Regions from separate parts of the Homo sapiens genome. Here all the other regions are linked to region 3. Evidence: promoter capture Hi-C in 16 types of primary human blood cells and fetal thymus (Javierre and others, 2016). All regions are on one chromosome and are shown on one strand. Each heading gives the region's core, a stretch centred on a gene start or on the middle of the fragment in contact. The rest is flanking DNA. Distances are from core to core; before and after follow the strand shown. Region 1 has its middle 60 kb from the start of CCDC81. Region 2 overlaps ME3 (malic enzyme 3). Region 3 holds the start of ME3 (malic enzyme 3).

Region 1 (3,879 bases), core at 453-2,952, 240 kb before region 3:
TTAGCTAAATACAGAGTGTAGATTGGTGCATTCACAAACCCTGAGCTAGACACAGGGTGCTGATTGGTGTGTTTACAAACCTTGAGCTAGATACAGACTGCCGATTGGTGTATTTACAATCTCTTAGCTAGACATAAAGGTTCTCCAGGTCCCCACCAGAGTAGCTGGATACAGTGTCAACTGGTGCATTCACAAACCCTGAGCTAGACATAGGGTGCTGATTGGTGTGTTTACAAACCTTGAGCTAGACATAAAGGTTCTCCAAGTCCCCACCAGAGTCAGGAGCCCAGCTGGCTTCACCCAGTGGATCCCGCACCGGGGCCGCAGGTGGAGCTGGCTGCCAGTCCCGCGCCGTTCGCCTGCACTCCTCAGCCCTTGGGTGGTCGATGGGACTGAGCGCCATGGAGCAGGGGGCAGCGCTTATCGGGGAGGCTCGGGCCGCACAGGAGCCCACGGAGGTGGGGAGGCTCAGGCATGGCAGGCTGCAGGTCCCGAGCCCTGCCCCGCGGGGAGGCAGCTAAGGCCTGGCGAGAAATCGAGCACAGCGCTGGTGGGCTGGCACTGCTGGGGGACCCAGTACACCCTCCGTGGCTGCTGGCCCGGGTGCTAAGCCCCTCATTGCCTGGGGCCGGCAGGGCTGGCCGGCTGCTCTGAGTGCGTGGCCCGCCAAGCCCATGCCCACCCGGAACTCCAGCTGGCCCACAAGCGCCGGGCGCAGCCCCGGTTCCCGCTTGCGCCTCTCCCTCCACACCTCTCTGCAAGCTGAGGGAGCCAGCTCTGGCCTTGGCCAGCCTAGAAAGGGGCTCCCACAGTGCAGTGGCGGGCTGAAGGGCTCCTCAAGCGTGGCCAGGGTGGGCACCAAGGCCGAGGAGGCGCTGAGAGTGAGCAGGGGCTGTGAGGGCTGCCAGCACGCTGTCACCTCTCAGCTTCAAAGACTCCAGTGGTCACAGAAACAACTGTTGTATTCAATAAACCTGGCTGCCTGATGCTATTGCCTTGAAAGTGGGACTTGAGAAAAGACCTAATTTATTGTACATTTTAGCCAACATATGGGCTTAGTGAATAAGTCTGATGAAGCTTCCATAGGGATATCAAAAAGCCACGAATTTAACAGAAATGCAACTTCTATGTTTGGCTTAGTGCTATTCCTATGCCAGAAAAAATACATAAGAAATCTAGAGATTAGATGCCAAGATCCCCAGCACAAAATTTGTATATTTTTAGTATCATACAGAATTAAAACTCCAGGAACTATAACTTTATGTAGCTCATCCCTTAAGTCATATCAAACACTGCAAGTAGGGCCTATATGATTATTTGCCTGCTTCATGTTTACCATCCTACACGGGTCCCAGTATACATCAGGTTTGTCCAACAGGTGATTTTGTTGGATTCTTTACACATCTTGTGGTTATTTGATGTCTTTGTCTAATCTCATTTTGTTATGAAAACCTCCATTTTGAAAAATCGACATCTGATTGAAAGTTCATGCAAAATCCATGTTGTACAGAAGCACATGTGTTGAATGTCTTCAAATAAAAAGGCCTTACCGTTAATGTTTACGGTTGGGGTGTAACTTAACACAGAGGGCCCTGAAGACAGAATGAGAGGAGACTATGAAATATTTCTAGTAAAATGTTGTTTTGATCTTGTGCAGAACATATGGTCTAGGACTTTTAATTTAGTAAGTGTTTGTTAAAAGGTAAAGATGCATTGGTCCAAGGTAAATAGAGCAAATATGGACAGAATTACAAGGAAAATTGGCAAGTTTACCGTAGCAGTGGGAAGTTTTATTGTTCCTCTTTCAGAAGCAGATCAAGTAGACAAAAATCAAGATTTTGCATATAGATTTACACAAAACAGTCAACAAACTTGATCCCATGAACATACAAAGGGCATTGCATCCAACAATGGGAGAATACATATTTATAAGAGTACATGAACTATTAAATTTGACCATATATTTGATTATAAACCCATTTCAGCAAATTTTAAGCTATTTGAATAATACAGAACACCTTCTCTCACCACAATTCAATTAAATTAGGAGAAAAGCTAATATCCACACATCTGTAATTTTGAAAATCTCTCTAGAGACTTCCACTTCTAAATAGGATATAGTAGGTCATGGCAGCCTAAAACTTTGCCTGCAACAACTAGAAAAAGATGGAAAAATTATAAAGATCATATTTAAAGATATGTGAGAGCTATGAAAGCAATAAGGACTAGGTGAATGGGAATTCCAGAGAGGGAGGAGTCCTCCTGAGGTAAGTGGCCATTTTATTTTCTAGGGACATTTACTGATTCTGGACATGGACTAATAAGGATCAAGCTTGGTCTGTGAAGAGGGTCTCTCCTGAGGGAAAGGGAAACCCAGAAAAGCTTTTGGTGGTCACGTGGGGCTGGTGCAACAAATTGGAAAATTAAGAACTTTGGCCAGTTTCTTCTACGTGTTATAAGTTGGGTTCCTCAGGAAATAGACACTGAATCTGAGATTCGCATCCAGAGGATTACTGGGGTGTCTTCTCAGAGAACATCTATGGGGGAGCAAGAGAAACAGGATAGGGCATAAGAAGTTGAATGGTGATACATAGCAGTTGCAACAGTAGCCTCAGCCAGTCTCATAGGGAGCTCTGAGGATGGGATGGCTATTTAGAGATGTTCTCAATTGAGGCTAGGAATCTGGCCTTTGGGCCCTTGAATCAACCAGTCATTGCCTGTAGGCTTCCCTTGGGGATGATGGCATAATCTTGGGTGAAGCATTCACCTTCAGTCGAGGGCAATTCCTAGAGAGCGATGCAGCTGGTGGCCCTCAGCTGACAATGGCATCTGGAGGAATGAGTGTTTCAGACCCAAGGCAGGATCTAGGTGGTGCAACCACAGCATCCACTCTCTTAAATGACACTTGCTGAATACTGGGGCTATGTATGGGAGGCTGGGGAGTTAGAGTGAAGACTTACAAGGCAAGGGAACTCTCCCTTAATCTAATAGTGCTTAGGAGACAAAGTTCTCCACATTCTTACCAACAGATCTTTTTTTTTTATTATAGCCATTCTGGTGAGTGTTGTTATGCCATTGTGGTTTTAATTTTCTTATTACTAATAATGTTAAACATTTTTCATGTGCTTGTTAGCCATTCACCTATCTTTTTGGATAAAATGCTGATTTAAATATTTTTCTCATTTTAAAATTTGAATTGTCATCTTCTTATTAAGTTGAAGTAGTTCTTTATATATTCCGGATCCAGTGTCTTCGTCAGATATATGATTTGCAATTATTTTCTCCCAGTCTGCTGCTTGTCTTTTTCCCTCCCAAAAAAAAGTGTTTCAAAGTGCAAAATTTTAAATTTTGATGAAGTACAATTTATTTCTTTTATGAATCATGCTTTTAAAGTTGTATCTCAGAACTCTCCTCAACCTAAGTCATAAAGATATTCTGCTATATTTTATCTTAGAAATTTTACAGTTTTAGCTCTCACATTTAGGTCTGTGATCCATTTCAGGTTGATTTTTGTTTGGTTTGAGATGTGTAAAGGTTAATTTTTGTGTTTAGTGTGAGGTGTCTAAGTTAACTTTTTTTTGCATGTGGATATTCAATTGTTTCAGCACAATTTGTTCAAAAGACTCTCTTTCCCCCAATGAATTACCTTAGTAATTTTGATTAAATTAGTAAATTTGATTAAAATTGATGATCAATTTGCCATAAAGGTAAAAACTTATTTGTGAACTCTCAGTTCTGCTTCATTTATTTATATGACCACACAGTCCTTTTTTGGTATAAATTTAAGGTGTACAAGTGCAGTTTTGTTACATGGATATGTTGCATAGTGGTGAAGTATGGACTTTTAGTGTAATCATTACCAAAATACTGCACATTATA
Region 2 (4,146 bases), core at 969-3,468, 190 kb before region 3:
CCTCTTTTCTTTGTAAATTACCCAGTCTCAGGTATTTCTTTATAACAATGTGAGAAGGAACTAATATATTTGTATTGGCCACATTGTGGGGTACAGGGAAGGCACGTGATAAATATAGCCTGAATGAAAATTTGGAGGAAATTTCATGAATTACATGAAGGAGGGCACATAATTGGATAAGTTTTCCTTAATTTCCCACAGCTTTTCTCATTATCTGGCCTTGGGGAAATAATTTTCTCTTTGGGTCTCAGTTTCCTCATCTAAAAAGTGAGGAAATTGGATCAAATGAGTGGGTTGTTTCTTGCTCAGATATTCCAAGAATGCAAGATTAAAGTCCTAGGCTGGATCCAGTGAGAAAATGAGAATTCTAAGATACAGACTGAACCACAGAAGGCATTCCTAATATTCAGTATATATATATATATATATATATAGAGAGAGAGAGAGAGAGAGAGAGAGAAAGAGAAAGAGAGAGAGAGAGAGCAGTGACCCTCTATGCTGAGAGGGACTCAGAATGTGAACACCCCTGTGAAACATTGCAATCGGGGCTTAGACCTAACAGCTTTTCACAATCTTTTAAAATTAACATAAAATCCTCATTAACTTCCTTTGTAGTCTGGATGCTATATGCCTAGGGATTTTTCTTTGCATATGTTGTGTTAAAACCAACAGGAGAAGCTTGGAGCTACAGAACCTCAGCTAAGCTTTTGGCAGGACGCTCAGTTCTAACATCCTGTCTTGTACAGACCTCCACACTTGACCTTGCCTGCTGTGGACCTATCTGCAGGCCTGAATGATGAGATGGAAACAGCCCTGAAAATGAAAGGACATTCAAGGCTGGGAAAATAGCGAGCACGAAGGCTCTGCCTCTGTAACAGAGACAACACATTTAAGGAGCGGCAGGAACAGGGGTGGGAGTTGGAGCCATCAAAGGCATCCTTCCAGCTCTGAGGGCAAAGTACAAGGCTTCTATATGTGGAGCCTCTGAATAGGTCAGTATCAGTGGGTGATCTCAGAGCAATTTTGCAGCTTTCTCTTGGGCAAGCTTCTGTTTCTCATTTCTGTACAGAGAACTGTGTCTCATGAAAAGATGTTTGGTTACTTGAGGGGGTGACTGACTCTGAGTGGTGAGTTTGAAAGGCCCAAGTAACACTCAGCTTCAAACAGCTGCAAAAAAATATAAGAACACCTCACCCTCAGGAACACACGGACCATACTGCTCCCCTCTATGTACACATGAATCTACACAACACCGTCCACTGGAGGAGGGAGAGCAAAACTGAATAGGTCTGTGTTGGGGGTGGGGATGAAGACCAAGCATTTACTAATTGCACATACCAGGGATCTAAAATGGAAATGGATCACACCTAGGGCTGTTTCATTTTTGTTTTTGTTTTTTCCTTCCTAGGTTTAGCACTGGGGAAGAGAGGAAAAGTAATATTGGAATGAAGGGGAGGGATGGGTGAGGGACTGTGGACAGCAGTGTTGGACATGTGAATGGATATATTAACTCAAACATGAATGCGTGAATGTGGGCACAGTGAAGCACTGCCTAAAGGAGAATGGCTTTGGAAACTGCCTAAATTAATAATAATAGCAAACATGATTTTTTTACTATCACTCAGGTGTATGTTAAACATTTTACATGGATGGCCTCATTTATCCATCATAAGTACTCTCCCAGTCTTAAAAATGCATTTTAGAGAGGAGGAAACTGAGGCACAGATGAATTAAGTCACTCGTTGATAAGTGTTAATAAGTAGCTTGTTAATAAGAGATTGGAACTCAGGCAGTCTAGCTCTAGAATTCGTGCTTTTAACAATTGCAGTTAGTGGGTAGGGTCTTAATCAGGCTCCCCTTTCTTAGATGAGGTACTTGTACTTTGTAAACTTCAGTTTCTTCATCTCTTAAAATAAAGTGAATAGTACCTAACTCATACAGTTGTTGTGAGAATTAGACAAGTTAATATTGTGTGAAGTGCTTGTATCAGTGTCTGCTTATGGTAAGCAATTAAATAATTAAGAGTTATTATTGTTATTATTGGTACTTATTCATTGAAAGGGATCAGATCCCTGCTCCCCGCCACCCATAAGACCCTTATATTCCTTCATCTCTTCTGCCATAATCTAAAAGTTTCAGTTCTGGGGATGATTTTGTTCCTATTCTTGATACCAAGCGATAAAATCAGGCTGCTAAGAGAAAATGAAAAGGAAATAGCCAGCTAGTGTCATTGAATCATATCCCGAGGCAGTGAGTTTCTTCCAGCACATTTTGGCCTCAGTCCTGAGGCTGGACCTTAACTAGTGAACTGCAAACTCACTCAATTATGCAGTCTGCTTGGTGCGATGGAAGTGAAAATGTCCTAGAGAGTTGGGTGCTAGTATGCATTTTGATAGTCTCCTAGCCTGTGACCCAGGACAGATTCCTTGCATGCATAGGAGTTTGTCACCATGCAAAATCTGGCTGTTGTTCTTCTGAGAACATGGGGGAGCTGGACTGTCAACAATGAGCCATATCAGGCTGAAACTGGGAAACTGTTCTGCTCCTTCAGAGTCAAGACAAGCCAGAATGAGTGTCAAATTTCCTTCCTCTGTGCTTCCTCAGATGTGGTCAGATTCATAGCCTTCAGTCTATTCTAATTGGTAGCTAGCCTGGTGTGGACTTTTGACCACCCACCAATCAACCAACTCCCACCCTCACCATTTACTGCACGAGTAAAGCCACGCTTCCTAGGAACTACCATTGGTAGAGATGTTACTGAGTCATAGGCCCTGAGATAGGAATGATCTATAAAGGCCATCCACGCCAGTTCTTGAACCCTTCTACAACAGTCCAGACTCATCTTTGCCCAATCTCTCCTCTGACAATGAAAGCCTAAGGACCAAAAAAAAAAAAAAAAAAAAAAAAAGGTTAAAGAAAAGCAATAGGCCATTTTAGCAGAGATGTCACAATGCAGTGCATGATTAATTAATTAGCAAATGAATTCTACAGCCAGTAAGATTACAGTCAGGGCAAGAGTATCAGGCCAGGCTGGTCAGAGTAGATTTCCCTAGGGAAGGCAGAATTTGAATTGGGGCATTGTTATGGGTTCTGCCTCTAATCTCTTCCCACATCTTGTCAATTTTAATACAATACTTTTGTTGCTCAAGAACCTACCATGCCTCCCTATTGCTCACTACATCAAGTCTCAAATAAGGTATTTTGTGGATTGGTAATTTTCAAACATTTTTTGCAGAATAATTCTTTAATAAAATATTGAGCAGAAACCAGATATAGAAGGCAATGAAAAACAATAAAGTGTTTCCTCAAGTGGTTTACATTTTTTATGGTTGGTGGAAAGTATTTCATTTCTAGCACTCCTGATATGCTTCTTTGGAGTCCTGGGGCCCAGGGAAGCTTGGTTTAAAAACCACTGCATTAGATGACTGTAGCCCCTTCCACTTTTGAGCTCTCATAATCATGACCTTCTGCCTGGATTGCAAGGCCTATCTTAGTGTGATGGTTAATTTTAGGTGTCAACTTGGCTGGTTTAGGGGATACTCAGATAGCTGGTAAAGCATTATTTCTGGGTATGTTTGTGAGGGTGTTTCTGGAAGAGACTGGTATTTGTATTAGTAAATTGAATAAGGAAGATTCACCCTCACCCCATATGGGCAGGCACCATCCAGTTGGTTGATGGCTCAGATAGAACAAAAAGGCAGAGGAAGGGTGAATTCGTTCTCTCTTCTGAATTTGGAACACCCATCTTCTCCGGCCCTTGAGCATCAGAACTCCAGGCTCTTTGGCCTTCTGACTCCAGGATGTGCACCAGCGGCCCCACTTTGGATTTATACTGAGCTATGCCACCAGTTTCCCTGGTTCTCCAGCTTGCAGACACCATATCATGGGATTTCTTTACCTCCATCATCACGTTAGCCACTTCTCATAATAAATCCACTCTCAAGTATCTAAATACCTAATATCCTATTGGTTCTGTTACTCTGGAGAAACCTAAATAATAGATGTAGCCAGCACCATTCTTATTTAACCTTATTTAAAATCACTGAACATTCATTTTTAGTTGGCCCATTCTTGTAGATACTCATTGCCTTCCCTGTATATTCATTGCTTTTCCTGTGTTCTTGCTTTTCTCATGATGTACCTTCT
Region 3 (4,215 bases), core at 179-2,678:
ACTAGGATCTCTAATGCTCCTGCAAGCTCGAAAATTTCTATAAGTCTAGACTTTTCCATCCTTGCTCTCAAATTAATCTTTTTCTCAGAATAATAATCATAACCTTATTTATTCTCCCACTGGGTACCAGGCACTGTTCTAACGTACCCCCATTTTCTACCCGCATTTTCTCTTTAGATCTCACGACATTCCTAAGACAATTATATCTCTTTTACAGATAAGGAAACCTAGGCTCATGTAGGTTAAATGAACTGCCCAAGACCAATAAAATTAGTAAGCATCAAGGGGAGAGCTGACCGCAGGTCAGACTGACCGCGAGGATCTAAACCTGGTCTGTGTTGTTACTGCAGAAGAAATTAGGCTCCCTGCATTACTGGTCGCCTCTCTCCACGCATAAAAGGGAGAGGAGGGACAAGAAAGCCAAACCAAGTCACAACAAGCCCCTGCAAGGCAAAAACAGAAAAACCGCTGGAAGGGCGCCCGGGAGGATCCTTTCTGGGTCCAGGGGGCGGGGCGCAATTTTCCGGCAGCCACGGGATCGCAACGCGGGCCGTCCTGCCCTCTGGCCCATTACCTTGTTGAGATGAGGGTTCCTGGTGACATCGTATCCGCGCTTCTTCAGGGGCACAGGGCGCGCCGGGCCAGGCTTGGAGTGGCAGCCTTGGGCGGGCGCGGTGGGTGTCCAGCGCGGGAGGGCGCCGCAGGCCCGGCCCGGCCAGGGAGCCAGCCGCGTGCCTGTCCCCAGCGCGGCACCCATGGTCCTTGGCAGACCTGGCACGGGAGAGAAAGCAAGGTCAGGGCCTCCTTCCAGCCAGCCAGGACCCACGCGCGCTGCGGGGCACCGGGCCTGATCCGGGGACGCGCCCTCTGGGAGAGGGCAGGTGCTCCCAAAGGGTTAAATGTTCCAGCCCCCGCCACTCCTCGGCTGCCACCTGCTCGGCTCCGCGCGGGGCGCCAGGCCTAGCCAAGAGCCAGGCAAAGCGAAACCAAGCCCTGGAAGCAGATCCGGTGCGGGTGACAGCCGGCGCCACCCCTGCCCCCATCCCTGTGAAAAAGAGGCGACTGCGCGGCGAGGGGTCCCCGTACCCCTAATCCCGCGTGGTGGCTTGCCTCGGTCCTCTCCTTCCCTGGCCCACCTGCGCTGCTCGGGGAGCTGAGGTCTACGCGGTCCCGCTGCGGAGCAGGCGGGGTGAGGAGCTGCGGTCTGTGAGTCCTCTCCCGCCAATGGGTGGACCGCGCTGGCGGCCGCGAGCTCGCGGAGCTGGTGAGTTCCTCAAAGAGCGGTCCCACAACCTTTGTTCTCAGTGCCTGGCTTCCCCTGAGGACGCGCGTGGGGCGCCTCAGCACTGCGTGCACGTGGTTTTCCCCAGTGACAAGAAGCAGCTCAGAATGCCCGCCTGAGACTCTCCATCTTGGCAAGACTAAATGCACAGAGGGGGATTTGCGTTTGGGGGTCAGCATATCCTCGCACTCTCCCAACATTCGGGGAAGGGCGTGCCTTCAGGATTTGGAGTAGAAATCCTCAGGCATTCGGTGCTCAGTGTTGCCTTGTGCTGTCCAATATAATAGCCATTCGCCACGTGTGGCTATATAAACGTAAATAAATTAGTCTATATAGAATAAAATTTAACATCCAGTTCTGCAGTCACGCTAGCCACATTTCCAGTTCAAGAGCCACTTGTATGCAGATACAGAACATTTCTGTTTTTGCGGATACTTCTATTAAGCATCATTGACATAGGAGCCACAGTTACTAAGAGGACTTCTGAGGACCCCATGGAGTTTGCCATGGGTTATTGGGGCCAGACAGGGATCTTGGGGTCCATCTAGCCCCAAACTTAATTTTATACTTTCTCCACACAGTAGTCAGGAGATTCCTTTTAAAGCAAACACTTTGTTGTGTGTGGAATAAAATCCAAACTTTCAGGGCCTACAAGATTTCCCATAAACTGGCTCTTGCCAGCCTCTTCAGACTTATCCTACTCTACTCTTTCCTTCTCACTGATCTCTGGCCATACTTGATCCTTCCTGTGTCTTCACCCCACTTGGTTCCCTCCCACTGCAGGGCCTTTGCACTTGCTATTGCCTCTCCTTGGAAGGCTCATACTCCAGCCTTGCAAACCACTACTTCATTCCCACCTCTCAGTTCTCCACTAAGTTGTCAACTCGAAGGCCTTTCCTCTATCCCATTCAATGTCAGCCTGCACTAGGAACTATAGAGTGAAGGGGTTTTTCTCTTTAGAGAACTTAACACAGTCAGTAGCGCGCTTGTTTTTCTGATTGTTTACTGACTATCTCCTGTCTAGAATGTAAGCTTCATGAAGAGAGGCTCTTTGCCTGTGAACCTGTGTGTCCTCACTGCCTAGCTCACTGCCTGGTATGTAGTTGCACAATAAATAGTTGTTAGGTGAAGGGAAGTGGCAGCCACTTTCATAAGGATCGTGAACCCTTAGACTTACTGACAGACAGTTGGCACGGTCCTCTGCTGACACCCCTTCAAAGCTCCCGGTGCCAGCATTAGCCCCGTTGTAAGTACCAAGCAGACATCATGGCCCATAATGTGCTAAGGGGTGCTCCTGCCTGAGTTCAGGATTCCCTCATCCCTTCAGGAATAATCGTCTCCTCCTGCAGTCTCTCTCCTCCCTGTGTAATATCTAATTTTCAACTTGAATGATCTACGTAAAATAGTTATTTCCAAAACAGAATTACAATTACCTGGTAGGAAATAAGGATGGGGCAAAAATACAGCTTTCCAGGCCCCATCCATGAAGATTCTCATCCAGTAGGGTTTACATCCCTGAAGTCAGGTTTACTCTTGGACTGCATATTTACATAAGCTTATAAATGATCTTTTTTTCTGCCTTAAACCAGTTTGTGTCAGATGTGTGATTGTGTGCAACCAATAGTATTAACTAAATCCTTTCAACACTATTTTTATATTGGCACTTCTTCCCACCAGTCAACATCTTTGGGGGGCAGAGATCATGTGTGTTTCCATCTTTGGTATCTAGTGCATGCAAATATTTGGAAATTGATTGTTGAACCAGTTTGCCCTTGCTGAATACAATGACCTTTCCCTCCCCTGGAGGATATCTAATAGGTAACTTTAGTCATTTGAAACCAGGATGTAAACAACAAAGGTTTCCAAACAAGCGAACATAATTTTTATAGCATCAATTCACTAAAGCTTGTACAGTTTACATATAAAAGTCTCTTACATGTCCTCACCTGTGGCCTATATTCTCTTAACCCAGGCATAATTCTACAATGTTGTTTTGTGTGTGTGTTTGTTCTTTGGTGACAGGAAAGAAAAGGTTAAAGGCAGGTCCACCAGGAGCAGTGACAGAAGGCAGTAGCAAGAGGAGGTGGTGGCTTCTCAGTTCCATACAGTTGTCCAGGGACCCAGGTTTTCTCTTTTGCTGCCAGGCTCTTCTGTAGCTGTTGCCCGCCTCTACACAGCGCTAACACCATGTTAGCATCCCAGCCGTGGAAAGCGGGAACAAGGAAACAGAGGGAAAGCAAATCGATTTGTTTTTTTAATTGGGACAGGGTCTCACTGTGTTGTTTAGGCTGTTCTTGAACTCCTGGGCTCAAGCAATCCTCCTGCCTCGGCCTCCCAAAGTGCTGGGATTACAGGCGTGAACCTCTATGCCCAGCCAAAGCAAATCTGTTCTGTGGAAGTGACATGAAAGTTGTATATATTACTTCTACTCACATTCCATTGGTAAAAACTAAGTCACACATTCATATCAAGCTACAGGGAGGGCTGGAAAATATTGTTTGTAGTAGGAAAGGCATGTATGTGCTCTACTGAAGTTCAGTGGGGAGTCTATTACTAAAAGGAAGAAGGGGAGAATGGTTCCTAGGGACCACTAACTAGAAGTCTAAATATAATACTCATTTTCTGTTGAAGTGCTTAGCCCGTAGTGGGTGATCAGAAACTGTGAGCTGTTTTTATTGGCACGTGTGGTTTCCATTTCTGCTTTTGTGGCAACTTCCTTACTTTTAGAGCTGAATATAGGATTTCAGAGACCAGGTTCAGAACCATGGAAACATTACAGATCTTCTTCCAACTCCATACAACTCTGACTTCCTTAGCCAGCCAGGAAGTTGGCTTGTGATCTGGTGATCTGGTCCAGCACTATATAGAACTAATGGGTCTCCATAATTTGTCTTGGCCCCTCTCCTTTCATATCCCATTTACTGACTTCTGCC

Evidence for each region. The method cuts DNA at HindIII sites, captures the fragments that hold promoters and counts their contacts. A CHiCAGO score of 5 or more calls a contact.
Region 1: a contact is called between a fragment that was not itself captured here and the fragment with the promoter of ME3 in region 3, in 1 of 17 cell types (endothelial precursors). The highest score is 5.3, in endothelial precursors.
Region 2: a contact is called between a fragment that was not itself captured here and the fragment with the promoter of ME3 in region 3, in 1 of 17 cell types (endothelial precursors). The highest score is 7.7, in endothelial precursors.

What each region holds. Positions count from the first base shown.
Region 1 is chr11:86,433,162-86,437,040 of GRCh38, forward strand. It overlaps the pseudogene PTP4A1P6 and a transcript of ME3 not described here. Among named protein-coding and RNA genes, the nearest start is that of CCDC81, 60 kb to the left of the region's middle. The HindIII fragment of the contact is 1,255 bases long and covers 1,076-2,330 here.
Region 2 is chr11:86,475,442-86,479,587 of GRCh38, forward strand. The region is part of intron 7 of ME3 (malic enzyme 3); the gene reads right to left. Among named protein-coding and RNA genes, the nearest start is that of CCDC81, 100 kb to the left of the region's middle. The HindIII fragment of the contact is 2,351 bases long and covers 1,044-3,394 here.
Region 3 is chr11:86,671,188-86,675,402 of GRCh38, forward strand. It overlaps ME3 (malic enzyme 3), which reads right to left and starts at 1,429. Exons shown (of 15, transcript NM_001161586.3): 1 at 1,137-1,429; 2 at 575-771. The coding sequence starts at 757. RefSeq lists a silencer at 3,800-4,094. The HindIII fragment of the contact is 7,449 bases long and covers 1-2,312 here.